Regions from separate parts of the Homo sapiens genome. Here region 1 is linked to region 2. The links are contacts of gene promoters, found by promoter capture Hi-C in blood cells and fetal thymus (Javierre and others, 2016). All regions are on one chromosome and are shown on one strand. Each heading gives the region's core, a stretch centred on a gene start or on the middle of the fragment in contact. The rest is flanking DNA. Distances are from core to core; before and after follow the strand shown.

Region 1 (2,700 bases), core at 171-2,670, 490 kb after region 2:
TGCCCTTTATTGGAAACTACAGTGACCTTTTGTCCTTTAATCTTCACTATTGAAATATATTGTAAGTTTAGTAACTATAGAGAAGCGTTTCTTGTTTATGTTAATAAGTGGCATGTGGAAAAGGGCTCTCCTAAGAGAGAATCATAAAGCCTGGAACTTTTAATTTATTAAGGCTCTGAGAAGTCCTGCGGAAAAAATAAATCTATTTAACTTTGTTTAAATTGTAGTTTAGCAAACTTATTATATTTGCACCAACTTTTCTCTTGTGTCTCTCCCACTAAACAAAACCCACAGAACCGGGGCGATTTCTAAGCTAGTTAATTCTTAATTCTAAGCGAGTCCTCAGTTAGTTAATTCTCTGATGTGGATGTAATTGTTTGGAGGGACCCTTTCTGAGTTCAACTTAGATTGTGTCCAGGAACACCTGCTATGATGAAATTGGTGTGCTTTGGGAAAATGGGTAGGCTAGATGACATTAGGAAATGTGTGGAAACACCCACTCAGTCACTTCGATTCAGGTTGCAGAAAATGATGGGAGTTAAAAGTATGGAAATGAGAAGTTTCGAAGTTAAGCACTCAAATTTAATATTAAATATATAAAGCTAGAGGAATGCTGGTATTGGATTGGAAGAAGGCAGACTTTACCCATCATTTTTAAGCTTGCTGGAAAGGAAGGTCATTTGTTACTGTCTTTGTAAAGACACTTCGAAAATGAAATATTCGAAAAGATAGCTGAGGGAGAAGGTGGTGAAGAATCAGAAGAAACGTTACTTGGGGAAAGTTCTTCATTAATATTGGTTCTGATTTTGGTGTTTCACAAAAATAATGTGTCATTTTGATGAAAGAAAAATATTGCCCTGCAGTAGATTTGATTTTATTTTATGAGAGGTAAAGAGGGGGCTGAGTATATTCTCTTATACATGCTTACATCCCAAATAGAGAGTAAGAATTTCGAATAAGAACAGTATGAGTTTTGAAAGTAAATAGTCTCTATGTTGATAAGAATTGTGGCATGCCTGGGTACTGAGTATCTTTTCAGAGATCCTAGAGACTGTCCAGAAACTGTTCCAGTTCATTGGGTCAAAAATCCACTATTTACGAAAAGCTAAATACGGATTTGCACGATTGACCATAATGGCTTCAATTTTGAAAGATAGTAGTATCAGAGAGCACTTCCAGTTGGTGGGATAATTTAAGAATCGCCCGTGCTCAAATGGCTAAAATATTGTACTTTTTGCTACTTCATCACTCCATTTTAAAAATAGAGAGGGGGAGAAAAGAAGGCAGACCTGTTGAGAAGGTGGAAGAATGTCAGTTGGAGAGCAAATCAAAATAACCATGTGAAGCCACTCCTTAGTTAACTACTGCCTGAAGGTTAACTGTTCCTTAGAAGCCTGTCAGGGAGTGGAGAGACTGGACTGGGGGCTGCTGTCCCTGTGTGTGCATGTGCACCTGTGTGTTTGTGTGTGCATGTGTGTGTGTGTATGTGCATGTTCATGTGCATGCATGATGAAGGGTGAAGAGAACTTGTGAGTAGGAAAGAAGGTGTAGAGAACAGAAAGCTAACATAAAATCCTGAAACTTAGAGTCCTAGGAAAATTTGACTATTTTAAACTAACTGTACTGCTTATTTAAAGATAGGAAAATTATACCATTCTTCTTCTGGTATAAGAGAGAGATAAAAATACAGTTTTTCTAAATTGGAAAATTTGCTGTAATCTTGCTGCTAATGACTGATTTCTTCCAACAGTTGCAAGGCAGTTTTTGCTCTGATAGGTTGATAAAGGAAACAAAATCAAGAACATATTGGAAATTCTCAGAGAAAATTACAGTTTAGGTATATGTTGGGGGTGGATACTTAGACATTTTAATTGAAATAAAACAGTTTTATACTAATATGGGATCACTGTGGGTGTACATTTGTAGTACATCTGCTCTTGAAGCATTTAAGTAGGGTTAAATGTATGTTAATGCTTTTGCAAGAAAATTTTCGATAATATCCGTCTAAGGAAACTAGCTTAGGAAATAGGTTTTTGAAAACAATATAGATATTATATTTGCATTTAGAGAGTGAATTAGGACTCTGTAATGCTTTAAGAATTTTAAAACATTAGTTGTATTCTCTAGTGGTAATGAAAGTTAACAATAATTAACACACAGCAGATGATTAAAGCAAGCTTACACATCTGGAGAGTGGCCACAGTCTGCTATATGCCTCTAAACACCATTTTAATTGACCTACTTTTGATATTATGAAAGGCTAATAATGATTTATTCTACCCAGTTGAAAATACTTTTTCTAGCAGATAATTGGAAACATCTCAGTTGGCCCCTCTGTTGATTTAGTTAGTGTGTGTGACAGATGGTTAATATCTTACGCTAAATATCTGCCAGCCTTGAGCCATTTTGTTGTTGTTGTTGACTCACAGTCACTATGATGACTTAAATAGTGTATGAATCTTGAGAATTGATAGATCTGTCAGATTATAGAGGAGGAGGGAGTCTTATCAATGAGGTAGACCATGGGTTCTCATTGTAATAGTGTAGAATGTTGGTTAACTGTGGACTCCCTGGCTCTGTCTCAAATCTACTGATTCATAATTTTTGGGTGTGGGGCTTGGGAATGTGTTTTAAACAAGCTCTCCAAGGGAATGTAGTTCCTACTTCAAATGAACAATGGCTGAGTATAGTTTATGGCTT
Region 2 (2,700 bases), core at 192-2,691:
AAAAAATCACCATATTGCTGTTGATTTTTTTCTTTTGCTAAGGATTGATACAAACTTCATCATATATCAAATGAAATAAATAATAGGTCCAGGAACTAAAATTTGGGTTTTCTGATTCCTTGGCAAAATCTTTTTTTTTTTACCTTCTTTAAAAAATTATTTTAATTGACAAATAAAAATTGCCTATATTTGGGAGCACATGTTTTAAAATACAAATACATTGTATAATGACTAAATCACACTAAATAAGATATGCATTACCTGACATAATTTTTTTGGTAGTGAGATACCATTATTTTCAGTAATCTATATAAATCAAATAGTATAAGAGATACATTTTTTAAAAATTTCATCTAATTGTAGTTCTTGGCCAAGTTTGTTCTACATTTAGTTATTCAATTTTCTGTATTCCCAAACACTCTGTTCATTTCTCACTAATATTAAGATGCAGATTCAAGTGGATTACTGTGTTTCATTGTGATTTATCTGTTTACATGTCTCTGAGCAGCATATAAGCTCCTTGAAGAAAGGGACCTTGTCTATACATGTTTGATGCACAGCTCCTGGTAAGCGGTATGACCTTACATTGTTGAATAAAGGAATGGCATTTATAGATATAATCTGGAACATGTATCAACATTTACAATAATACTCAATTTGTGTACGTATATTCCATAATATTCATCCATATACATCCATATATTATATATAGAGTTCCATGAAGTTCACTACTGTATTCAAAATGATATTCAAATGCTATTCAAACAATTCTAAATGATATATTTTGAACACCATAAAATGTTACACAAATCCATAAATAGCATTACTGTATAATAACCTGTAAACCAGAGTTACTACACACACATACACACCACACAAATTCTATTTAAAAAGCTATTTTACCACAAAGTAATTCTAAGACCTTATAAACACTGCCTAATGGAAAAGTCTGGAGATTGGAGCCAGGCAAAAAAATCTGCATTTCGGTTGTCTAGAACTACCTGAGTGACTTCGGCTGCTTCCTACCGAACCTGAATTTTCTGTGATGTGGAGACATTTAATACCACCTTTAGGGAACTGGCTTAAGGACTGGAGGTAATAACGTATGTGAAGGGCTGATGAATGTTTGCAGTCACACTGTAGTCTCTCTAGAGTTCCTTCCTCGGTTGCAAACTAAGGGTTTTTTTGTTTGTTTGTTTTACACATTATGAGTCTCTTATAGTCAGGAAAACTACACGGATCTCAACTTTGGCAATACAGAGAGTCCGAATAACAAGGTAGAGACCAAAAAAAAAAAAAAAAAAAAATCACCTCTACAACTCGGAAAAAGCGCTAACCCCGCAGGAAGCGCTGGGCCGACCTCCAGTATCCCAGCATTCCTCGCGCTGCTCCCGTATTCTTTCCCCAAGTCTCTATGGTAGCGTCAGCGTCGGAGGCGGTAGTGACGGTGGCGTTTCCTTGAGGAAGAGTGAGGGTTCCAACTTTTCTGCTTATCTGGGAGGTGTTGGGCGCGGACAGTCGAGATGTCAGAGAAAAAGCAGCCGGTAGACTTAGGTCTGTTAGAGGAAGACGACGAGTTTGAAGAGTTCCCTGCCGAAGGTAACCGCTGGGCCCCGGTTTCTGTGTCGCGCGAACGGTGACTCAGGCCTCCGTGTGGAGGTAGCTTGGGTGCTCGGGCCCAGCTGGGGGCACCGGCGGGAAGTTTGGACTCCCAGGGCCGGCACTCGAGGCGCTAACGCTCACCCCTCAGTGGCGCCCCAGATTCGGGTTTGGGGTGTTGCGCTGGGACTCACTGGTGAGGCCCAATGGCTTCGGCTTCCTCACTGGGAGGAGCCACCGTGAGTCTGGACCCATAGCCCCGCGTCTGTGATGGTTGGTCCATTTACTGTTCACCTGGGTTACTCACCACTTAAACTTAGTTCAAGTCTACATAACCTCCTTTTCTTTTTGTTTTAGCAGTCTTTCTTTGTCTTTAAACCTTTCCAGAATTGAATTGTCAGTAGTTACGCCAATGCTGCTTAACTTTTAGGATGTTACAAATGAAGCCTCATTAAGTAGGATAGGAGGGTAAGATACGGGGTGCTTAATACACATTATTGCCTCATTCCTGTTCCTCACCATTTTGATCACTTAACTGTGACCTAACTTAATGCTTTATAAGACCCTAAAACTTGCCGGGTGTGGTGGCTCACGCCTGTAATCGCAGCAGTTTGGGAGGAAGAGGCAGGAGGATCACATAAGGTCAGGAGTTCAAGACCAGCCTGGGCAACATAGCGAGACCCTGTCCCTACAAAAATAAAATATTTTTTTAAAAGAACCTAAACCTTACACATTTTTTTTTTTAGCTTCAAAACTAAAGACCTGGTTTTTTCATTGTAGATAATAGCAAATTGCTAACATTTATTGAGTGGCTGTTGTTTTCAGGAACTTGTCTAAGTGCTTTACTTGTAATAGCATATTCCACTTTCATAAATATAAGAAGTAGGCCTCAGTATTGCCATTCTTCAGATAAACTGAAGCTCGGAATGGTTAAGAAACCTTCTGATGTCTCATAACTAGTTAGAAATAATAGAACTGGAACTGGGAAACCTGGCCTGATTGACACCAAAGCTCTTAACTTCAGCTGTACTGCTTCTGTTTGTGAGATTGCTGTTGCCAGTTAGGTTTTCAAAATAGGCTGCTTTATTGGCTGATGGTTGA

What was found. Contacts are between HindIII fragments. The CHiCAGO score rates a contact against its expected background, and 5 or more counts as called.
Region 1: a fragment that was not itself captured here is called in contact with the fragment with the promoter of SEM1 in region 2 in 2 of 17 cell types (M2 macrophages and M1 macrophages); the score reaches 6.8 in M2 macrophages.

What each region holds. Positions count from the first base shown.
Region 1 is chr7:96,219,559-96,222,258 of GRCh38, reverse strand. All of the region lies in intron 4 of SLC25A13 (solute carrier family 25 member 13), which reads left to right. MIR591 (microRNA 591) reads left to right here and starts at 2,503; the gene lies at 2,503-2,597. The HindIII fragment of the contact is 1,518 bases long and covers 662-2,179 here.
Region 2 is chr7:96,708,587-96,711,286 of GRCh38, reverse strand. SEM1 (SEM1 26S proteasome subunit) reads left to right here and starts at 1,441. Exons shown (of 3, transcript NM_006304.2): 1 at 1,441-1,599. The coding sequence starts at 1,524. RefSeq lists enhancers at 1,167-1,256, 1,427-1,626. The HindIII fragment of the contact is 9,533 bases long and covers 1-2,700 here.